Linked DNA regions of Homo sapiens: regions 2, 3 and 4 are each linked to region 1. Evidence: promoter capture Hi-C in human tissues and cell types (Jung and others, 2019). All regions are on one chromosome and are shown on one strand. The core of a region is centred on a gene start or on the middle of the fragment in contact, and the rest is flanking DNA. Distances in the headings are between cores, read along the strand shown.

Region 1 (6,028 bases), core at 1,920-4,419:
CCTATCATATTTTTTATTTCTGTTTATCACTAACACACTTGCTATTTCAATCTTGTTTATTGTCACTTCTGCTAAAGTCAGCTCCACTGGGTCAATAATTATTGTATATTTTCTTCACTGCTGTGTCTTCTGCATCTGGCATTCATACATAGTAGGTGCTAACTCCTTAACTATTAAATGAATGAATAGAGTACTTTAAAATAGAACTAAGGGGCATGAGTACTGGGAGGAAAAGGTGATCCGTCCATTCAGCAGAAGAAAGGAGAGATGAGAAAAGACGGTGTGGGAATCTGGCCAGAGGTGAGTTGTGGGGCCCAGATGAGCTTGACAAGAGGAAATGAGGATCTGCCAGGTCCGCTGGGGGCTCCAGTAGCCCCTTCCTCCTGGCAGTTGTGATTTCCAGCTGCCAGGGCCCCCGCTGGAGGGCTTCTGCTGAGGAGGGAGGATGGAGTAGGGCGGGTTTGCAGCCACGGAACAAAGGCCTGTGGACTTGCAGCTGGCCAGAGAGGCGGGACAGAGCAGTGGCCTGGGCCAGAGGGGCGGCCTGAGATGGGGGAGGGGGCACAGATGAGGAGCTGAAGACAGCCCTCAGTGCAGCTGCAAAAGCAACACCCTCCCAGAGTCCCTGCAACCCCCAACACAACAGAGAATAGCCAGAGGGCTTCACTTTTAACCCTCCAAGGCCAGGGCGGCCTGGGCTTGTGGCAGCACCCCTGGCTTACAGCTGGAGCCTTCACAAGGTTCTGGGAGCTGGGAGAAGAGAACGGGCAAGGCATACCTCTGCAACAGAGGAGCCTTCCCCCTCCAGCCCTGGTCATCCCGCAGGCCGTGGCCTTTGGCCTCTTCCAGCGTAAACAGTGACCGTGGGATAGCTGCGGATTTGGTAAGGCAAATGTTTACTCTGGGGCTGAGATATTAAGACCAGGGTGTTTTAAACATCCAACAATGGCTCCTGGTATCTAACGTCTCCTTGTGGCACACACGTGGGACATAGCCAGCAAATTGTAAAACCCTTGGGAGACTCCCTCCCGAGCCACTGTGAGCCCTTTAGTTTTAACAGGAGTTTATGGAGCACTTTCCACAAATGAGGCTTCCTTTGATCCTCACCACAGCTCCTATGAGGAAGAGCAGGCAAGTAATCCCACTTTATTTATGTGGAAACTGAGTCAGAAAAGATAAGTGAATTGGCCAGATCATGTTGGAGAAAACACAGATCAGACAATGAGGACATCTGACCTCTGGTTTCTACTTGGCCAATAGGGTCTAAGGCTGAAATCACCTCACCCCTCTGGGCTCTGCTGCCTTCACGAGTAAATGAAGTAGGCTAATCCAAGGGGCCCCCCAGCCCAAGTGACTCGCACTCTTCAACTCTACCAATCTTCCATGCTATGCAGAAGAGCCAGGTCTAAAACTCAGGCATAAACCCGTGCTGGACTATCAGGCCAGTGCTCTTTCCACTTCCCCTGCCATGCCACTTCTAATAAAAGGCAGTAGAAAAGCCCCCAAAGCAGCTCTTCAACAAATCACTCCCTCAGCAGCTAGGACTTGGCCTCTGGGTACCTCTTCCCCCAACTTCCTGCCCCATCCCCAGGGCAAGTTACCCAGGGAGCTAATGGGTTGTCCTATCTTCCAGGAAGGGAGTGGAGGACAGCAGGTGTCGAAAGGAGAAGTGAGGCCATTGCATCCAGGGGGCCAGCCCGGAACCACAGGGGAGAGATGTATAACAGAGAGATAAATGTACACTTTTGGTTCTCACTCCCTAGTTTCCTCCTGGGGAACAGCTGGGGTTTAATCACTCAGGATCCCATCCTTGTCCAACAAAGGATGGCCCGGAAAACCACACTGCTGAAGGCGAGGTGGCCGATGTGCTCAACGGGGAGGCCCTCCCCCGCTCCGGACTGTCATTGCCCTCCCTGCTTATTATTTCTTGAGCAAGGGCCATGTGACTGGGCTGCGTGCAGAGGCACGGCTGGGGAGACTCTGGGAACCCCCACTCCAGGGTTCCCCGTAAGGTGAACGCAGTGTGGGTCTCCTGCTGGGGCCCCCAGAGCAGGGGACAGGCACCTACATATGCCAACAGATTAGCGAGTGACCTCGAGGATCAAACTCTTTCGCGGCCTCTAACAACACCCTCCCCAAAAGCCACACCTCTCCAGCCTCCAACCATTCCATTCTCCCCTCCGTTCTTCCTTTTGTGTTCCAAAGGCGCCCCGAAGAGTCAAAGTAGCTATTTAACGCCTTAAAAATTTAAGCTTGCACGCCTTATACTGGCTTTCCAAACCAAAGGGCTGGGTGTAGGGGTGCGAAGAACCAAACCGACTTCAGGAGTGGACGAGGTCGAGGCAGCTGGTGGCCGGGCTTTCCGCTCCCCGCTTCTGGCCCCCACTCTCCTCCCTGCCGGACAGGTAGCCGAGATTCCCAACAGCGAGCACCGTGCGGCGCCAACCCGGAACAGGCTGCAGGCGCCTCCGGGGCTGGCAGGAGCCGAGGCTCGGGTCCTCGCGCAGAAGGGTCCACCCGCCAGGCCCACAGCTCCAGCCAAACACCAGCCCTCGGGCGCGCGCGGCCTCGCGGGCTTCCTGGATTTCAAACTGAGCCTCTCTGGAGCCGCCCGGCGCATTTGCCCCTTTTGTTTCCGGAGTGGAGGGAAAAAAAGACAGAAAAAGTCTCCCCATACGACCCTCCTGCGCTCGCGCACTCTGCGGCAGGGTGGCCCGGGAAGCAGCCAACACAGTTCCAGGCCCTCCTCGGTCGCCCCGGTCCTCACCCCGCAGGGGGCTGGCACGGGGGCCGCGAAGGGACTGGGGCCCCAGCGTGACTGCCGGCACCGCCGCTCAGCCTAATGCAGGGAGATAAGAGGGGAGAGAGGAGAATCAGGGGACACTCACCGAGCGGTAGCTGCCCCGCGGGCTCGGGACGCGCACGGCGTGCGGGGCTGCCCAGGTGCTGCCGCGACGCGGGCGCGAGTTTGAAAGTCGCTCTCTGAAGGGGCTGAGGCCGCCGACCGCTCCCGCCCACCGCCAGCCCCTCAGCTGGCCCGGACTCGGCCAGCTGCAAGCGCGGCCCCCGGAGACCCCAGGCAGCGCGCGGCTTGCCAGCGCCCGGCAGGAAGTCGAGCGGAGCCGGAGCTGCAGCGGGAGGGCAGGAGGGAGCGAGGGAGCGAGGGAGCGAGGGAGCGAGGGAGCGAGGGAGCGAGGGAGCGAGGGAGGGGCGGGCCAGGAATTTTTCCTGTGGGTGGAGACTCCAGCTCGCGGCTGCAGTCCAGCAATTGGCGGCTCTGCGGGGGCCGGGGCAACCTTCGCGGCGCGGCGAGCCAGAGCCGGGGTAAGGCTGCGGCGGCGGCGAGGCCTGGGCGCGGTTAACGATTAACGCCCGCAGGGTGATGAGCGCGCACCCCCGGGCAGCCTAGATGCTCTAGGATACCAAGACGCACGTGGTGGGGTCACCCTGGTGTCACAGACCTGCTATCACCGCCTCCCGAGACAGCATGGACTGCCAGAACGTACCCCTTGTATGGACAGGGAACACCGGGCCCTGCGAAGGGGGCTGAGGGCTTTCCCAAGTGAGTGACCAGCCGGGATCGATCTGGGGATCCTAATCCTACCAGAGCCGGCCGTGTCCGCTTTTCCAAGTCAGAAAGGCATGTCTTGAATTCCTCACCATAACTCGGTCCCTGTGACGCTTTACAGTGGTAAATGCAGACCTCTGAGAAGCTGACGGGAAAGAGATAAAGGAGACAACGTGAAGGCAACTCCACAAGGAACTGTTAAATAGGAAAAATAAAACACAGAAACCTGGATGATAGAGGACCCGTTTTTATAAAACAAAGAGAACCGTTTGTCTTTATGTCTCTGTATATGACCGTGTATGCATGGAAAGGTACACACCTGGAAACTGGGGGGCAAGGGGTGAGGATGGGGGACAGAGACATTCAATACATTTTGAGCAAGAGCATAAATCCAAAAACCCATAATAATTCATCAGTAAAGATCCTGAAGAACAACAAGCCCGGAGGAGGGAAGCCCAGAGTGGGGCTCCGGAAGAGGAACAACGCCCACTGGTTAGGCGCTATCACTAGTTCCTTGGGAGGAGGAATAGGACGCTGATATTAGAACCACGGGGTATATTTGTTATCCAGGTGTACAGCAAACGATTTCTAGAGGTATCATTTAAAACAAAACAAGCGCCCGCCCCAAAATGCTGCTCTGGGCAAATGCAAGCTCCAGGTGATCTACTGGGAGGGGAGAGGCGGGGCAGGCGCGGAAGGAAATGGCTTTCAGGTGACTTTGAAACTGGATCCTGGCGGAGGGTGGGGTGAAGGCAGCGTCCCGGCTCCTGCCTGCGGAGGAAGCGGTAGGCGCTCGGTCTGGCAGGCCCAGAAAGCGGGGCCCACATTCCTTAGGGAGGGAGGGTGTGTTGGAGGCTTGCAGAGCCCCAGACTCGCGGACCGTGAAGGTGAGAGCAGAGATTGCAGAAGAGGGGCTCGGAAATAGATCAACTTAGTTGGGGCTCCGCTAGACCCCGCCGGCCAGGGGAGAAGTGACAAGTCCCCCTTCTGGCCTTCCAGGACTTGTGGTCACCCCTTCCAACCTCAGGCTTTCACCTTTTTTTGTTTATGCTTTCTTATCTGATCACCTGAATCTTACGAATGCCTTCCGGTCCGCTTCAAATTCCAGCTTCCAAAGAAGCCCCCTGACTTAGCCACTTGTGAGCGACCCTTCACTCCTTAGCCAGGACACGTTACAGTGTTAGTGGCAGTCATAACTGTCCTTTAGTGAATGCTTACCATGCAGAGGGCCTGTGCTACACTCTTAACAAACTGTGTCCCTGGATCCTCACAGCCACCTTGCGAGGTAGGAGATATCCTAATCCCCATCTTGCAGACAGAACACTGAGGCTTAGGGGCAAGGAGCAACTTGGCAAAGATTACACAACCAGCAAAAGCAGTGTCGGGCAAGTGCCTAGATGGGTGTGTGCTTACTATGAGTGTGCTTACTATGTATTAGCCATTCTTCTAAGTACTTTACAAAAACAATTGCAGTAACAGAAAAGGAAACTGAGGCAAAGTCACACAGCTAGTGGGTGGTAGACCTGGAAGTCATAACAGGGAATTCTGCCCTTCACCATCACTGCTTCCAGTTTCTTTCTGACACTTGTTATGCCCAATTCACTTGATTATAATATATTGTTTCTATTAATAATTGTTTTAATTTATATCACCTACTTCCTAAAAAGATTGTAATCTCCCTGTGGTAGAAGTCATATAGGAAGCACTCAGTAAAACAATGCTGAATTCAACTGAAACAATCTAAAGAGTTTGTGAGAAATCGCACAGTCTCTCCTCCGATAATAAAACCCTGTGTCAAGGGCCAGGGGCTCCAGGCTGCAGCCCCTCCACAGCTCGGAGCCTCTTCCTACCAGTTCTTGTTGCAATGGCCTCACCCTGCTATTAAATCATTTATTATTATTATAATACCTTGTGTCTCAGCAATGCCTTTAATCCAAGATCTCAAGGTGTTCTAACAAATACAGGTGAACTCACTTTCACAGTACCCCAGCTGAGATGAGGAGATGGAGGTATTTTCCCAACTGTTTGGATGAGAAAACCAAGACAACAGAGAATTGAGATGATTCACTATGGAAATTAGTGGCAGGGTTTACTCCCCCATCTCTTCCCCTCCTCCTTCCTAATTCTTGGCTGCCAATACTTGCATGAAAATTTCAAATCCCAGAGACAAAAGCCATTGAGTTTTCACAATAAAGGACATTTCCAGACTGTCATTTCAGCTGCTCTATTGTGGCAGACCTCAGGAGAGGGAGGGAACGTAAGCCTAGTAAAGGTTCCCTGGGGCTCTGTGCTCCTGGCTCAGAGGAGCCATGCCTGGCTGGGATGGAGGAATGAAACCTCAAACATGGAGAAAATCCCCCTCAAAAGTGACCTGAAAAGCCCCACCAAGCTCTGAGATCTCAAAGCTTCCAGAGTTCCAAGTTGCATTTTAGCAACATTTCTCAAAAATGTGAGCCACAT
Region 2 (6,028 bases), core at 990-3,489, 210 kb after region 1:
ATGAGCCACTACGCCCAGCTGATAAAAGTTTTAAAAATTAATAGATGGCATTTGAGAATTACAAAAACTAGATTGAGGTCTGCAACTGGAAGAGGAGAACAGCAATGAATAAGCTTCTGTTTTTATGGCTTTTAGACTGGCATAAGGTCCCAGCTGGTGATATGAAGAGGTGGCTACAACTGTAATAACAACCTGTAATCTCTCTTGAAGAAAAGAGGACAGAGCTCACAGTGATCATGCAGCTGGAAAGTGCAGGAGAAAATCCTAGAAAGAATGTTGGAGTGGCAGAACCCCAAACACTGTTTATAAACTCTGCTTGAATTTCTTGCAAACCCCTCAACTGTACATGTGTGGAGCAGCCTCCAAACAGCACACTTAAGGCTAAAGGAGCAGAGATTTCAGCTGCTGTCCACCATAGGGGAGGCAGAACTTGGAGTTTAAGTCCAGCTAAGGTAATTGTCTGCAAAAAACAAAAACACAAACACTCTTTGGAAGAATATTACAGAATCTAGAGTGAATTGTATTAATCACAATACCTAGACTATAATCCAGAAACAATCACCCTAATCAGTGGAGACTGACCCCATAATTAGCCAAAGGTTGGATTTAGCAGAGAAGATTTAAAGCAGCAGCTATTATAACTATGCTCAAGGATGTAAAGCAAAATGTTGTATATGTGAACAAATAGGAAATCTCAGCAGAGAATTAGAAACTTTAAAAAAGAATGAAATGAAAATTTTACATCTGAAAATACAATATCTGAAACAATCTTGAATAGATTTAACAGATCAGATATGACAGATAAGTCATTTAATTTGAGGATAGATTAATAGAAATTATCTAATCTGAAGTAGAGAAATAAGTTATTGTATATGAAAGTTCTCTGTAAACTTCAGTGCTCTATGTAAGTTTCAGAGTTTATTACTCCAGGTTTCTTTCATATGTAAAGGGAAGAGGTATGTTTGGGTCTTCTGATCTGCAGCTTCCTTAATGTCCTGTCCTGTCATGTCTGTGTCTAAGCTTTATACCCTCTGGTTTCTTTATTTTTATTTTTTTATTTTTTTTTGAGACAGAGTCTCGCTCTGTTGCCCAGGCTGGAGTGCAGTGGATCTCAGCTCACTGCAACCTCTGCCTCCTGGGTTCAAGTGATTCTTCTGCCTCAACCTCCCAAGTAGCTGGGATTACAGGCATGTGCTACCACACCTGGCTAATTTTTGTATTTTGAGTAGAGACGGGGTCTCACCATGTTGTTCAGGTTGGTCTCAAACTCCTGGCCTCAAGTGGTCCACTCACCTTGTCCTCCCAAAGGGCTGGGATTACAGGCGTGGGCCACTGCGCTTGGCCTAGCCTCTGGTTTCTAATATCCCCTGCAGTCAGATATTTGGCCCTTGCTGCTTTCCTGTACTATTGTCAGAGGTTACCAGGAATCTTTTGGTCAGTACACTCGACATGTTTGTAATGGGCCTCACCCCCATGTTTCTCTTCAGTGTTTTGCACCATTGCCATCTCCTTTCTGCAAGGTCATTGCCTTTCCTCAATGACGATGTTTTCTTTTTTCTCCTCCTCTGTCTTATTTTGTCTTTTCTGTTTTCCAAAGATTCATTCTTAGCTTTTTTCCCTCTTATTTCATTCTACTTTTTAGTCTACTTTATTATTTTCATACTTGGTTACTTCAGCCTTGTCGTTTCAGAGGCCTCTTCTCCCTCTCTGGCTCTGCTCTCTCTAGAGCCCTGTCCTGCTTCTTGTCCCCGCTGATCACTAAACATTTCTACTTAGATACCTGGTAGACACTTGGAGCTCAGAGTGTCTGAAGTGAAACCCCTATTCTTCTTCTTCTTTTTTTTTTTTTTGAGGTGGGGTCTCAGAACCTCTTATCAAGACGGTTTCTGTACTTCTTCTCTAATGTTCTGGGACTCTGCCTTTATATCAACACCTAGCACATGGCAGTTACTCTGAAAATGTAATCTGAAGGAATGGATGAATTCTTCCAATTACCCAAGCTGGAATTCTGAGACTCACCTTTGATTTGATCTCTGTGGTGACAAGTCATGTCAGTTTTGTGTCTGATGTATCTCTTGTATTCCTTCCTTCATTCCCACTGCGATTACTTTGATACCATAGTAGGCTCCTAGCCAGTCTTTCTCCATGCCTTTTCCCTTGCTAATATTTTTTATATGTTGCTGTTAGAGCAGTCTTTACTCACGCCTAATGATGGTGATGATGATAATGCCTAGTATTTATTAGGCACTAACTGTGGGCCCACTGTTTCTAAGTGCATTATATCATTAAATTCAAATAACCTATAAGTTAGATACTGTCATTGTCCATATTTTATAAGTGAAATGGAGGCCCAGAGAGTTAAGTGTCTTGCCAAGACCACGCAGCTAGTAAATGGCAGAGCTAAAATTTTAAGCTGTCTGATTTTAGTTCAAGCTTTAACTACCACGCTCTGTTCTCCCTCCCACAGAGTAAGTTAACTGATCATGCTGTTCTTACTCAAACATCTTACATAGTTCACTTCAAACACGACACTACTTTTTAGTCTTATATTCTGTATGCTTTTTGAACTGACCACATTTCATTATTTCTGTTACTTTTTTTTTCTATGCCAAGCTGAATCCTTCTGTTATCTAACTATTCATATTCTTCCCAGTAATTTTATTCATTTTATTTTTTCTGCCTGGCCTTGTTTCCCATCAAGTTGCCTGTGTTTATCTCCCTCTGATAGCATGTTCTCTAACTGCTCTGTGCTACTGAATGCATTTATTTCATATTATAATTATGGTTTGATGTTTTATCTTTCCTGTGAGCCTGTAATCTTGAGTGTAGCATCTTGTCATTTTTTTCTGTCTCCACGCCTTGTACAATGCAGGCTTTTACACATTTTTTCTTTATTAAATTGCTCTTCAAAAATATCTGTTGAATAAGTGAAGAATTTAACTGTTACCAACAGACCATTAACCATAAGATTCCTGTATGGGTGGCTTATTAGTGTGCTATGTCTCATTTCCCTATGGTTCAGTAGTTCAATATAATGGGAAGAACTGGTGAAAATGTTTATGATCCGAGGGTTTGGTTTTGTTTTTTTTTTTTGAGACAACTTATCAGGCTAGTTTAAGATGCTTCAATATGAACCATTTCATTGATTCTAAGACACGTTTTTCACATGCTGAAATTGTCAATACAGATTTTTAGTTTGTTAGGCCGGGCACGGTGGCTCATGCCTTTAGGAGGCTGAGGTGGGCAGATCACCTGAGGTCAGGAGTTTGAGACCAGCCTGGCCAACATGGTGAACTCCCGTCTCTACTAAAAATACAAAAATTAGCTGGGCATGGTGGCGGGCACCTGTAATGCCAGCTACTTGGGAGGCTGAGGCAGGAGAATCGCTTAAACCCAGGAGGCGGAGGTTGCAGTAAGCCGAGATGGAGCCGTTGCACTCCAGCCTGGTCAACAAGAGCAAAACTCCGTCTCAAATAATAATAATAATAATAATAATATAACTTGGGGATTATTCCACATCAGTACATTAAATATGTAGTTTTAATAGAGTCTGCCTTTTTTTTTTTTTTTTTTTTTTGAGATAGGGTCTTGCTCTGTCACCCAGGGTGAAGTGCAGTGGCATGATCATGGCTTACTGTAGCCTCAATCTTCCTGGCTAAAGCTATCCTCCTGTCACATCCACCCAAGTAGCTGGGACTAAAGCATGCACCACCGTGCCTGGCTAATTTTTGACACATAGGAAGCACTATAAAATGTTAGCTATATTTATTATATTACTGATCACTTAGCTGTCTGCTGCCCAAGCCACTGCCAATCTTTAGACGGCTAACCCTGCATTACATCACTGACCTCCTTAGACCTTGGTCTGGCTGGCTGGTGTGGAAACCTCATTCTCTTTTTCAGTGTCTGCTCTTTCAAAGGATGTTCTCCTGGCCACCCAATGATGCCCTTTATACTACAGCTACCTTCTGCCTAAAGTACCAGGGCTCTCTCCACAGTAGGGTAGAGAAGATGATGTACAGTCTGCCACCTGCCTGAAACCAGGGCACTTCTGAATGTTTTTGCTGCTTATACTCGGCTTCTTGGCCAGAATTCTGCATGTTCTTCCTCATATAGGCTTCCCCGCAGTTGTTCCACCTTGCCTTTTACTTCCTTTGGGAACCTACATTATAATATGCGTCTGAATCCAGTTGAGATCAGTTCTTTCTTTTGTGTGTGTGTGTGTGTTTTTGAGACAGAGTCTCACTGTTGCCCAGGCTGGAGTGCAGTGGTGTGATCACAGCTCACTGCAGCCTTGACCTCCCAGTCTTAAGTGATCCTCCTGCCTCAGCCCCTCAAGTAGTTGGGAGTACAGGTGCATGCCACCATACCTAGCTAATTGTTTTATTTTTTGTGGAGATGACGTTTCACTATATTGCTCAGGTTGGTCTCCAATACCTGGGCTCAAGCAACCCTCCTGCCTCATCCTCCCAAGGTGCTGGGATTACAGGCATGAGCCACTGCGCCAGCTTAAGTTCTTTCTCAGGAGGCTCTTGGGCCACAAGTAAATTGGGGATGTGGCTTGACATCTATTTTAAGAGTTCCTGAGCTACTGTGATGATAAGTCCCCCAAACATTTGATGAGAGTTGGGAAGCCAGTATCCCCTGAGCACCAGAGGATCCCTGAGGAGGAGTGACATCTCTAGCTCAGCCAGGATACCGTGTTATGTTATTAACATTTATAGCTAACATCGAATAGCAGTTTCCATTACAACATGATTTTCACATAAGTTATTTAACTCTGAGGCAGGAATCAGTATCTCATTTTCATTTTTCTAATGAGGAAACAAGATTAGAAACATTGTGTTCACATAGATGGAAAAGGACAGGTCTGTCTTCATGTGTCACTCATACCAAGCTATCTTCTTACCAGATGAAAAAGGGTCATATTTTATGGTTCAGCAGAGTTTATATCAGTTGTCATAATGGAGGAATTTAGTGTTAGCCGTGTTTGCAGTGAAAGTAATAGGATTGAAAACTTGAATAATTTCATTTAAATTTAGATCTCCTTGTTACTCTGTAGGTTTGTGTGAACTGTAGACAATTTTGTATTAATAAAAAATAATGCGTATATACATACACACCTATCTACATTTATCTTGTCCTTTTTTTCAGAACCACAATGGACACTGCCAGCCATAGCCTTGTTCTTCTCCAGCAGCTGAACATGCAGCGAGAATTTGGTTTTCTGTGTGATTGCACAGTTGCAATTGGAGATGTTTACTTCAAAGCCCACAGAGCAGTGCTTGCTGCTTTTTCTAACTATTTCAAGATGATATTTATTCACCAAACAAGGTAAGGATGTGTTTTTGTAAATAAGAATTTTTAATATTGTGATTTATATAAGCTTTATTATAGTATCATTTTGGAAATTCTTTGTTACGGAGTCACACTAAGAAGTAAAATTATAATTTTTTTTTTTTTTTTTTTTTTTTTTTTTTTTTTTTGGCGACAGAGTCTTGCTCTGTCACCCAGGCTGGAGTGCAATGGTTCAGTGTCGGCTCACTGCAACCTCTGCCTCCCAGGTACAAGCGATTCTCCTGCCTCAGCCTCCCGAGTACCTGGGATTACAGGCGCCTGCCACCACGCCCGGTTAATTTTTGTATTTTTAGTAGAGGCAGGGTTTCACCATGTTGGCCAGGCTGATCTCAAACTCCTGACCTCAGGTGATCCGCCTGCCTCAGCCTCCCAAAGTGCTGGGATTACAGGCATGAGCCACCATGCCTGGCCAAATTATAATAATTTTTTATACATTAGTAATTAAACTCAGTGTGTAGGATCCATAATGGAAAATAAGAATGAAAATAAGAATAGCTAAAATTGGCTGGGCGCCATGGCTCACGCCTGTAATCCCAGCACTTTGGGAGGCCAAGGTGGGCGGATCACAAGGTCAGGAGTTCGAGACCAGCCTGGCCAATATGGTGAAACCCCGTCTCTACTAAAAATACAAAAATTAGCCAGGCATGGTGGTGGGCGCCTGTAGTCCCAG
Region 3 (6,028 bases), core at 1,826-4,325, 160 kb after region 1:
CAGGTGTGGTGGTGCATGCCTGTAATCCCAGCTACTCGGTAGGCTGAGGCAGGAGAATCGCTTGAACCCAGGAGGCGGAGGTTGAAGTGAGCCGAGATCAAGCCATTGCACTCCAGCCTGGGCAACAAGAGTGAAATTCCGTCTCAAAAAAAAAAAAAAAAAAAGAATTTCAGATAAGTGCCTGTCGGAGAATCCTTAAACTGTAATTTAGCCCCATCCTAACATCAAGTACTTTTTCCACTGTTATTTGACTATGGCTGATCTAACATCTGCTAAGGAGTTCCCAGGAGTTATCAGGTTACAAGTTTCAACTGACCCCTGGAAAGTGAATGGCTACTTTGGTGGCTTTATCTTGGTAATATGCAAATCTTGGTAAATTTGAAAAGAGAGAATTAAATAAGAAACACTCTCAAGAATGCTCAAGAATGTAAAACTCAAGAATTTGAGTTTTACAAATTACTTTTCAAAATAGAAAATGAAGTATCTGCCCAGATTGATGTTAGTATTATAGCAAGCTACCGGAGGTCAGGCCGTAGGATCAAAAACTACCAATGGTCATTTTCTGATACTTTAGAAACTAATCTCTTAAGTGAGGTCTAAAATGAGTCATACCAAACTGCATTTACAGAAGGACTCCATTATATTTTGAAGTTAGAGCAAGGAATGAACACTTTCAACAAATAAAGGACTAATAAAAGGGTAACAGAATGGGTATTATCTTGGTAAAACTCACAGTAAACGTCACTCTAAAGCTACAATTAACCTGATTTTGTAGTACCATAGTAGTTTGTCACATATTTATGCCTGTAGTCCATGAAACACCCTTAAATGCTCATTGCTGAAAAATTTCCACCAATGTGACACCAGCACTGATAAATTGGAGTTATCTTTAGCTTTTCAGAGTATAAAAAGCAGTTTCCTTTAAAAAAAAAAAAAGGTTTTTATGTTGAAGCAATTTCACTGTTGGCTATTTATCTTCCTCCCCCCTACCCAAATGAGGCTTGCTAAAAAGGAAAAAAAAAAAAACACCTTATGTGTACTTAAGAGTCAACTCTTGTATGAAAGGGTCATTACCAAAGGCCAGTATTCTTAGGCTAACTTCTTAGCTAGTTTTAAAATTATTACTCATTCCATTATTCATAAAATTAATCTCTCTGAATGACACAGATGGGTCCACTACTAAATTGAAGATAAAGCTTTCATAACTATTGTCTTATGAGCAGCATGAAGCAAACCTGCATCATGTGGAAAGATATCAAAACGTCTATGTGCAGTAAAAACATTAGGTTAACTATGCATTTTCCTATTGGTTTTACTGAATTTCTCTCAAGTTCTCCTTAAAGAGAGTAAGAAAAGAGTAGTCATGTCATTTCACTAAAAAATAAAAATGAATTCCTTTCTCTGAAGGATGTGAATTTTAAAGATTAAGTCCAGGATAGTGGATCACCAAAGGGTTGCAATATTCTTATCTATAACAATCTCAAATTGGATATGGAGGAAAATGGACAAGTTGTATATTAACAAAATACAAGACTATCTAGTACAGTTTGCCTTTTAAAAAAGAAATCTATCGTAGTGATTTAAGGCAAGTATTGCAAAAACGTTATGATCCCCAAACCAGAAAAAAATAATAATAATTATGTTTCCCTACCCAAGTAATTCTAACTGCGGGAAACATGTTATTAGAATTTGCCATAAGCTCAGAAGTTGAGCTGTTTTACTAGAAAATTAAACAAGTTTGACTAAATTTATACTCACTATTAAGTCACTTGAAAGCTTGCCTGCTGTCTCTTGTTTCAGGCTCCTGTATGTCACAAAATTAATTTGTTTCCATATTTCCTTTGGCAATTATAAGACAACTTCTGCCCAGCTTTTGTTAAAGGCTCATTTTACATTTAACCCCAGAATATAGCTCATATTTTCCTGGAATATTCAGGTGAATTTTCATTTGGACACTTAAGTTGTAGGAGTGTGAGTACACTAGGAAGACCCCAAGTCAGGTTTCTGTATTTAAGGGTGGGTGAAGTTTACCCAGATTCTTCTCCCCTTAAGTTGTTGGAATTCAAGGCAGCACCCTCATCTGGGAATTAAACAAGATTGGTTAGATAAATTTCACATCATACTAACATCTTAAAAGACGAATATGGGTAAAATATAAAGGAAGGAAAATTGAAAACTCCAAGACAGTAACTTTGAGATCAATTTCAGCTTTACTTTACATTTGCATTTATGCATTTGTTTGCAAAAAGTATACCTGTCCTTAACATTACTGCAATGTTCAGTTTAGTTTTAAAGTAGTACATAAAAATAAACAATTTAAGCTCCTATATATTTTACTGTTTCCAAGCTTCTACAGAACAGGTGTGCAAACTTAAGGTTTCTCATCTCAAACAAATCTCCATGCACGAACTAATCAAAAATGCTCAAGTCAGCAAACACGCAAAATGCATTAAAGAGAAACCTCGAATAATGTTTTTAAAAAACAAACTTTGGAACTTTTATAATTAAACTAAGTTGTTGCACCTCTCCTTTCATTTGCATATACCAAAGACTTCCAACAATAGATCTCGTACTTGGCACAAGGACATTTCAAAGAAACAAACAAAAAAAAAGAGAGAGAGAGAAAGGCAAAGAGGTTTACGCTGACTTGAGTGCAAGCTTAGTCCACTTCTTCGATGGTGGGTCCCCCGGAGGCTCCTGAACCGCCGCCGCCGCTGCCGCCGCCAGGACCACCTTGGTAAAGTTTGCTGATGATGGGGTTGCAAACTCTTTCGAGCTCTTTCTGCTTGTGTTCATACTCATCTTTCTCTGCCATCTGGTTTCGGTCGAGCCAGTTGATCACCTCCTGACACTTGTCGAGGATCTTGTTTTTGTCCTGCTCGCTAATCTTGCCCCTCAGTTTCTCGTCTTCCACCGTCTGCTTGATGTTGTAGGTATAGGACTCCAGGGCGTTTTTGGCCGCGACTCGGTCGCGATTCGCCTCATCTTCCGATTTGTACCGCTCCGCCTCCTGCACCATCCGGTCAATGTCGTCCTTGCTCAGACGACCTTTGTCATTGGTGATGGTGATTTTGTTTTCCTTACCGGTGCTCTTGTCGGCGGCGGTAACGTTAAGGATGCCATTGGCGTCAATGTCGAAGGTAACCTCGATTTGGGGGACCCCGCGAGGCGCAGGGGGAATCCCGGTCAGGTCGAACTTGCCCAGCAGGTTATTGTCCTTGGTCATGGCCCGTTCGCCCTCGTATACCTGCACCAGTACGCTGCTCTGGTTGTCCGAGTAGGTGGTGAAGGTCTGCGTCTGCTTGGTGGGGATCGTGGTGTTCCTCTTGATGAGTGGGGTCATGACACCGCCAGCTGTCTCGATGCCCAGCGACAACGGGGTCACGTCGAGTAGCAGCAGGTCCTGCACATTCTCTGATTTGTCGCCGATGAGGATGGCCGCCTGCACCGCGGCGCCATAGGCCACCGCCTCGTCGGGGTTGATGCTCTTGTTCAGCTCCTTGCCGTTGAAGAAATCCTGCAGCAGCTTCTGGATCTTGGGGATACGAGTGGAGCCGCCCACCAGCACGATCTCCTGGATCTGGCCCTTGTCCAGCTTGGCGTCGCGCAGCGCCTTCTCCACCGGCTCCAGGGTCCCGCGAAAGAGGTCGGCATTGAGCTCCTCGAAGCGGGCGCGCGTGATGGACGTATAGAAGTCCACGCCCTCGTAGAGCGAGTCGATCTCGATGCTCGCCTGCGTGGACGAGCTCAGGGTGCGCTTGGCGCGCTCGCAAGCGGTGCGCAGCCGCCTCACGGCGCGCTTGTTGGGCCCAATGTCCTTCTTGTGCTTGCGCTTGAACTCCTCCGCCAGGTGGCTCACCATGCGGTTGTCGAAGTCCTCACCGCCCAGGTGGGTGTCGCCGGCCGTGGACTTCACCTCGAAGATGCCATCCTCGATGGTCAGGATGGACACGTCGAAAGTGCCACCGCCCAGGTCAAAGATGAGCACGTTCTTCTCGCCGCCCGCGCAGCCCTTCTTGTCCAGGCCGTAGGCGATGGCCGCCGCCGTGGGCTCGTTGATGATGCGCAGCACATTGAGCCCCGTGATGGTGCCTGCGTCCTTGGTGGCCTGGCGCTGCGAGTCGTTGAAATAGGCCGGGACCGTTATGACCGCGCTGTGCACCTTGCCCCCCAGGTAGGCTTCCGCGATCTCCTTCATCTTCGTGAGGACCATGGAGGATATCTCCTCTGGGAAGAAGGTCTTGGTCTCCCCCTTGTACTCTACTTGCACTTTGGGCTTGCCTCCCTCGCTCACCACCCGGAACGGCCAGTGTTTCATATCCGACTGCACTGTGGCATCCTCGAATTTCCGTCCAATCAGCCTCTTGGCGTCGAAGATGGTGTTGGTGGGGTTCATGGCCACCTGGTTCTTGGCGGCGTCGCCGATGAGGCGCTCGGTGTCCGTGAAGGCCACGTAGCTGGGGGTGGTGCGATTGCCCTGGTCGTTGGCGATGATCTCCACCTTGCCATGTTGGAAGACCCCGACGCACGAATAGGTGGTGCCCAGGTCGATGCCGATAGCCGGGCCACGGGCAGACATCCTGACTGAAAGGCGAGCGACGTTAGGACGGGAAAACCAGGGAGATGAACTCCGCGGAGTCAACTAACGGCCACCTCGAACCAAGCACCACGGGCACTACCAGCAACTCAGCTCCCCGCGCCCAGTTCCCGGTTCTTATAGCCGCCTCTGGGAACTCCCAGACCCAATCCGCTCCCGGGACCGCCCTCACAAACTCTTCCAGCTCCACCACAGGCTTGCCTAGGTCGGAGTGACTGGCCCGTGACCCAACAGATTTCAAGTTGGACGAGGGGCGGGACTCCGGCCCCCGCCAGGAGACAGAGGGGCGGCCGTTATGTAAATGAGGTTCCTCCCTGACTCTCGGCCGCCAGGCCGTGGTGCCTCGCGCGCCTCCTGCTGCTGGCTGGCGTTAGGCGCGCGCTCCCAGAGCCAGGTGTACGCGCTTTTTCGCGGTCTTTGCCCTAGCCGACGTGCATCGGATTGGCAGGGCACGCGGCCAATGAGCAGTGCGGACTGAGGCGCGGCACGGGGAGGAGGCGTGGAAGGGGATCCCGGTGAGGAGAGCCACTGGGAGAGTTCGCTCAATTCCTGAGGTTTTAAATGCAGTTCACTGCTAGGGTGCCGACTCACTGAGCACGCAGGGGCGGAGGAATTCATTCTGAGTTGGTTGCACCGAAGAAATAAAGCTCGAGCAGCTTGTTTTCCCCGGCGCCGTCCAAGGGGAGGGAATAGGGAATTGGGGTGGCTGGGGTGGGGGGTGAGGGCGGATCCCTTGGACGGGGATTAAAGAAAAGAAAAAGTCTGAACCGGCGGTCGGCCTCCTGGGATTTTATGGTGGGTGCTTCACTGCGTCTCAGTGGTTGTGAGCGCTCGATTAAAACTGCCTGGCTGGGGCCGGGCGCAGTGGCTAACGCCTGTAATCCCAGCACTTGGGAGGCCGAGGCGGCCGGATCACGACGTTAAGACATCGAGACCATCCTGGCCAACATGGTGAAAGCCCGTCTCTACTAAAGATACAAAAATTAGCTGGGCGTGGTGGCGCGTGCCTGTAGTCTCAGCTACTCGGGAGGCTGAGGCAGGAGAATCGCTTGAACCCGGGAGGTGGAGGTTGCAGTGAGCCGAGATCACGCCACTACACTCCAGCCTGGGCGACTGAGCGAGACTCCGTCTCAAAAAAAACAAAAAAAAACCCCACTGCCTGGCGGGCGGAGAGAACCTGAGCCCAGGGCGAGGCCGACCGTTTTCCCGCGCCGCGTGAGGGCGGCTGGCGGGACGGCAGACAGGGGTGTGGCGGCGACTTGTCCTCCGAGGAGCCTGCATTTAAACCCTTCCTGCCTCACTCTTCCTTTTTCCTGTTTGTCCTGCCGCTTTAAACTCTGGTTTCGCCTTCCTGTTCATTCCATTGCTTATTTTAGGTCGCAAGTGCTTTATCCACTGCTTTGAGTTTTTGACTGGAAAACCCATAATATA
Region 4 (6,028 bases), core at 1-2,500, 130 kb after region 1:
TGGCTCATGCCCGTAATCCCAGCACTTTGGGAGGCTGAGGTGGGTGGATCACCTGAGGTCAGGAGTTTGAGACCAGCCTGACCAATATGGTGAAACCCCATCTCTACTAAAAATACAAAAATTAATCAGGCATGGTGGTGTGTGCCTGTAATCCCAGCTACTCGGGAGGCCGAGACAGGAGAATCACTTGAACCTGGGAGGCAGAGGTTGCAGTGAGCCGAGATCACACCATTGCACTCCAGCCTATGGGGACAAGAGCGAGACTTTGTCAAAAAAAAAAAAAAAAAAAAGATACTCAGTCAAATAAAACATCTTTAAGCTTTTTATACACCTTTAAACTATCAAAAATATTAAAGTAATAAAACCCAATGCAACCAGATATACTTACTGCTGATGGTAATACAAAATGTCTTAAACTAGGCCAGGCGCAGTGGCTCACACCTGTAATCCCAGCACTTTGGGAGGCCGAGGCGGGTGGATCACGAGGTCAGGAGATCGAGACCATCCTGGCTAACATGGTGAAACCCTGTCTCTACTAAAAATACAAAAAATTAGCTGGGCGTGGTGGCGGGCGCCTGTAGTCCCAGCTACTTGGGAGGCTGAGACAGGAGAATGGCGTGAACCCAGGAGGCGGGGCTTGCAGTGAGCCAAGATCGTGCCACTGCAGTCCAGCCTGGGCAACAGAGCAAGACTATGTCTCAAAAAAAAAAAAAACCCCAAAATGTCTTAACCTTTATAGAGAACAATCTAGCAGTATGTATCAAGAGCTACAAAACTGTGGCTTTCTAGGTAAATATACTGTGGAAAATAAGCCATAAGGAAATAGTCCAAATGAACAAAGAATATTCAATGCAGAAATATTATAACACACAAAAACTAAAATTATGCAAATGTACACAAAAAGAATGGTTAAGCAAATATGTATGTTACATAACAGAATCCTATTCAAAGTGGTAAGTGAAATCACATAGTCAGAATAATAAGAGAAAGTACCCAGGAAATACAGAATACAAAAATGTATATACCAACAACTGTGTAAGTATGCTCATTGACAAAGCTGGTCTTTGAAAATGTGGAGAATGTAGAAAGAGACACATCATGTACTAGGTTCTTTTCCTATGGGGGGAATAATTATTTTCCTATGGGGGAAAAAAACTGTTCTGGCTATGACCATGAGGTAGATCTGGGGCCTGTTGTGAAACTCAGAGAAGGAGATTCTGAGTTAAGGGTTGATGTGTTCGACCTTGTGATCCCAAACCTGTGATGAGACTCCTCTTTAAGTTTTAATTACAGTGGTGTAAAAATAGTCATCCTAAGGTAAAAATGATCTTCCCACAAAGAACCATCTTAGAATCCACACCTCAGCAGCTCCTACTCACAATTGTTGCTGCTGCAAAATAAGCAGTAAAAGGATAGGGAGACACCTAATCCCCCTGCACTACCGGCCCCACCAGACCTCCTGCCCAAGGGAGCCAAGTCTGGCAGCAAGAGCCCTTCCTGGTTGAGAGCAAGATTTCACTGAGAGACCATGTCATTCAATCTCAAGCAGTGGAAAGTTTTAAAAATATCCGCTGAGATTCTGAGATTTCTTCCACATGCACTTTGGTCTCTCAAAGGAGACATTACAAGGGTTTGGGACAGATTCTCACCTGAGCCCAATTACTCTGGACAACAGAAAAAGGAACATTTTCTCAAGGTAACAAAAGTCAAACGGAAGCATCTTAAGGATGTGAGTCTATGATGGAGTGATGATCTAATGAAGTGTAAGTATCTGCTTACTTTCCACAGCACATGTGATGCTTATCCGGCACGGCCAAGCCCAGCACAAGGATACAGTACTTCTGCGCCAAGTACCTCTGTGCTGCTTCTAATTCACTTAAAACCAATTCCATTTCTTTTTTCTCTACAAGGCCTCTGATGGGGAGGACAAAAAAAAGAGAATTTGGGTTAATTGTCATAAGTGCCTATATTAACTAGCAAAAAGTCAGAATTATAAACTTTTCTTCTTTTCTTTAAGACAGAGTCTTGCTCTGCTACCTAGGCTGGAGTGCAGTGGTGCGATCACAGCTCACTGCAGCCTCAACCTCCAGGGCTCAAGCAATCCTCCTGCCTCATAGGCGCATGCCACCATGCCTGGCTAATCTTTTTTTATTTTGTGTAGAGGCAGGGTCTCACTCTGTTGTCCAGGCTAATCTTGAACTCCTGGACTCAAGTGATCCTCCCCTTGGCCTCCCAAAGTGTTGGGATGGCAGGCGTGAGCCAGTGTGCCCAGCCATAAACTATTCTGAAAGAAATACAAGTGAGTCAACAGACTTCACTTACCAATGAGTTTATGTTATTTAAGCAATGGTATAGGAAAATCCTTAAAGTCCCTTCATATTTAATCATTGGAATCAGCATCTCAAGCTTATGGTGTATTTTTGCTTTTTTTTTTTTTTTTTTTTTTTTTTTTTTTGAGACAGAGTCTCGCTGTGTCGCCCAAGCTGGAGTGCAAGTGGCATGAACTCGGCTCACTGAGACCTCCACCTCCCGGGTTCAAGGAATTCTCCTGCCTCAGCCTCCCGAGTAACTGGGATTACAGGTGCCTACCACCATGCCTGGCTAATTTTTGTATTTTTAGTAGAGACAGGGTTTCACCATGTTGGCCAGGCTGGTCTTGAACTCCCGACCTCAAGTGATCCACCCACCTTGGCCTCCCAAAGTGCTGGGATTACAGGCATGAACCACCACACCCGGCCTATTTTCGCTTTTTTAATAGATTATGTTATGTATCCTCAATTTTATATGCAGGTAGTCCTAATTTATATAGAACAGCTCAATTAACAAATTATCTATACTGGTTGCTCAGGCGGTTAGCAGCCTACTTTCCTGCTATTTTCCTAAAACAACCGTGGAGGCTACGTACCTCAGCTTCCCCTGCGTTCCCTATGTCACTACTGAGCTTGGGGGCTCAACATGTGAACAAGGACCAACTCTCCATTTTGAGTGTAGCTGTGTTTGCTAAGAAGGCATCTGTGAACTACTACTCTGGGAACTTTGGCATCAGTTACAATAACACTGCTTCCCTGTGAAACCAGCTGCAGTTCCAATTGAATTGCAAATGAACTTTCACAAAGACAAACTGTTCTTAGGTTACAGCATGTCTGAAGCCAAATTTTAAGTTTCTGCTATACAATACAGTAGGAAATATTGCTGATGATACATTCCAATGTACTGTTATTGAAAAGTGAGTTGTACTCTTATGGAAAAGTGAGGTGTCACTAGACACCAAATGATATTTACTCTAAACAGGGACAAATGACTGCCCCTTCTGATATAACCATTGGACTGACTCCATGAAGTCAGCAAGAACAGTTATTATTATCCTTAATACAAAGACAAACTGTATTATCCTTAATACACCCCCTTCCCCTCATGGCATGGAGGATATAACCCAAACACACCCCTCCAGATGCACCCCAGTGGCCACACCCCTGTGCCTGTTTCCTTCAGCAGCTCCACCCTCACTGGTCACCCTACTCTGCCAGAGCTGCCAGTAGCTAATATTCTTCTTTTGCTGTAGAAAACAACCAAATCAAACTACAGCCACCAAGGAATGCCTTGAAGCTTTTAGGCCAATGCTTCTCAAGTTTTAATAAACCTATGAATTATGAAAGAATCACTGGGGATACTTGCTAACAGTGCAAATTCCCAGTGCAACCCTCTCTCCAAGATTCTGGCTCAGGAGTCTGGGTCTAGCCCAGGAAATTTAAAACAATCTTCCCAAATGATTCCAAGGCAAGTGGTCCCTAGACCCCATATGCACATATACATAAAGAACTGATGTGTTGAAATGGAAAAAAAAGGAAAAAGCTATGAAAAAAAAATACTCAAGAGAAGCTAACCTATATACAAAACTCCAGGCAGAGGTGGCCTGTTTGCACCACATTTCTGTGTCTGGAAACCATTCCCCCATACTGTTTTCATCTAATTTTGTAAAACTGCCTTAAATACAAAGCCAGTTAGTGGTTCACTTTTAAAGCACATTCTTTAAAAGTGCAAACAATAATGCTGACAAAATTTTGTTGAAACGGATGCGCTTATGCATTGCTTGTAACAGAAAATTGGCATAATCCTTTGGGGAAAAAAACTGAAAATAATTTCAAGAGCCATAGAAATTATCATAAATTTTGATCCAATATCATCTCTCCTGGAAATTTATTCTTTTAAAAAAATCATCCAAAATTAGGAGGAAACTTTTATGCATGAGGATATTCAATGCAATCATTATTTATATATCAGAAAAATTAGAAACTGCCAAAATATATAAAATAGAAGGTGATATGGTTTGGCTGTGTCCCCACCCAAATCTCATCTTAAATTGTAGCTCCCATAATTCCCATGTGTCATGGGAGGGACCCAATGGGAGGTAACTGAATCATCGTGGCGGGTCTTTCCCATGCTGTTTCATGATAGTGAATAAGTTTCATGAGATCTGATAGTTTTATGAGGGGTGTTCCCCTGCGCATGCTTTCTTGCCTGCCACCATGTAAGACATGCTGTTGCTCCTCATTCGCCTTCCACCATGATTGTGAGGCCTCCGCAGCCATGTGGAACTGTGAGTCCATTAAGCCTCTTTCCTTTATAAATTACCCAGTTGGGTATGTCTTTATTAGAAACATGAGAACAGACTAATACAGAAGGATAAAGGGAGCAGCAATACGGTCAGGTATTGTTTAAGGACTTGATGCTTATTAACCTAACTTATGAGTGAGTCTTCCACGAGATGTAACCCAAGCATCAAAATCTGTACCCTTAACCACTATAATATACTGCCTCTTAGTAGGTAAGTCAATTCACACACATTGGCTTGATGGAAAACTATGCTACCATTAAAAATTATAATTATGAAGATTATAGTAACTTGAAAGTACATATGATATTATGTTTAAAAGTACATACAGGCTGGGCACGGTGGCTCAGGCTTATAATCCCAGCACTTTGGGAGGCTGAGGTGGGTGGATCACCTGAGGTCAGGAGTTCAAGGTCAGCCTGGCCAACATGGTGAAACTCTATCCCTACCAAAAATATAAAAAATTAGCCAGGCATGGTAGCACATGCCTGTAGTGTCAGCTACTCAGGAGGCTGAGGCAGGAGAATCACTTGAACCCGGGAGGCAGAGGTTACAGTGAGCCGAGATTGTGCCACTGCACTCCAGCTTGGTTGATGGAGCAAGACTCCGTTTCAAACAAACAAACAAACAAACAAACAAACAAACAGTACATACATAATTGTTCAGAAGCTAAAAATTCTAATTACGGACAGATAAACTCTGGAAAACAGTGCAGTTGATTGGTGGGAAGTGCTGGGCATGTTGTACAGTGATTAAGGCACAAGCCTTGGAGTTAAACAGACCTGGGTTCTAATATCAGTTCCACCTAGGAACTGTAATGTCATCTCCTAGGTATGGTACGTAATCCCCAACAAACTATTTAACCTCTGTGAGCCTTAATTTCTTCATCTGTAAAATAGGGATAAGGCTTCTTCTTTTGGAAGTAGGGCTTTTAATCACCTGACATCAATTAAGTGTACCGTTGCCATCCATCTTCACCCTTTTCTGCTTTCCTCTCACGGCTGTAGGCTTTCCTCCCAAGTGCCATGCACTGGGTTAAGATACACTGTCTCATCTACTTCTGTATAATAACTCTGTGAATTAAATGCTATTACTATCCCTATGCTCTATCTTGGTATTTGAAATCAGTTTTTTTCTTCTGTGCAGATACCTCAATGCAATCAATATTTAATTCTATTATAGTAAGTAAACCAACTGACCACAGGAAGCCTGAAAATAAAAAGTTGTAATTTTTATTTTTAGAATCACACCATAAACTCCATACTTTTTTTTTTTAAGGCGGAGTCTCGCTCTGTCGCCCAGGCTGGAGTGCAATGGTGCCATCTCGGCTCACTGCAACCTCTGCCTCCCAGGTTCAAGTGATTCTCTTGCCTCAGCCTCCTGAGGAGCTGGGATTACAGGAGTGTGCCACCACGC

What was found. The method cuts DNA at HindIII sites, captures the fragments that hold promoters and counts their contacts. A contact is called where the count stands out against the background at its distance.
Region 2: a fragment that was not itself captured here is called in contact with the fragment with the promoter of PLEKHG3 in region 1 in 1 of the 25 tissues and cell types used here (thymus).
Region 3: a contact is called between a fragment that was not itself captured here and the fragment with the promoter of PLEKHG3 in region 1, in 5 of the 25 tissues and cell types used here (H1 embryonic stem cells, dorsolateral prefrontal cortex, heart right ventricle and 2 more).
Region 4: a contact is called between a fragment that was not itself captured here and the fragment with the promoter of PLEKHG3 in region 1, in 2 of the 25 tissues and cell types used here (dorsolateral prefrontal cortex and hippocampus).

The regions. Positions count from the first base shown.
Region 1 is chr14:64,701,565-64,707,592 of GRCh38, reverse strand. It overlaps PLEKHG3 (pleckstrin homology and RhoGEF domain containing G3), which reads right to left and starts at 3,169. Exons shown (of 17, transcript NM_001308147.2): 1 at 2,889-3,169. RefSeq lists an enhancer at 4,389-4,890. The HindIII fragment of the contact is 6,175 bases long and covers 898-6,028 here.
Region 2 is chr14:64,489,667-64,495,694 of GRCh38, reverse strand. It overlaps ZBTB25 (zinc finger and BTB domain containing 25), which reads left to right. Exons shown (of 3, transcript NM_006977.5): 2 at 5,155-5,334. The coding sequence starts at 5,162. Among named protein-coding and RNA genes, the nearest start is that of ZBTB25, 11 kb to the left of the region's middle. The HindIII fragment of the contact is 3,343 bases long and covers 568-3,910 here.
Region 3 is chr14:64,539,401-64,545,428 of GRCh38, reverse strand. It overlaps HSPA2 (heat shock protein family A (Hsp70) member 2), which reads right to left and starts at 4,688. Exons shown (of 1, transcript NM_021979.4): 1 at 2,192-4,688. The coding sequence starts at 4,579. The coding sequence ends at 2,660. HSPA2-AS1 (HSPA2 and ZBTB1 antisense RNA 1) reads left to right here and starts at 5,061. Exons shown (of 4, transcript NR_110550.1): 1 at 5,061-5,112. RefSeq lists an enhancer at 4,544-4,653 and a silencer at 4,824-4,913. The HindIII fragment of the contact is 3,177 bases long and covers 1,487-4,663 here.
Region 4 is chr14:64,570,341-64,576,368 of GRCh38, reverse strand. PPP1R36 (protein phosphatase 1 regulatory subunit 36) reads right to left here. Exons shown (of 12, transcript NM_172365.3): 8 at 1,780-1,914. Among named protein-coding and RNA genes, the nearest start is that of PPP1R36, 23 kb to the right of the region's middle. RefSeq lists a silencer at 2,904-3,198 and an enhancer at 2,687-3,223. The HindIII fragment of the contact is 3,512 bases long and covers 1-3,006 here.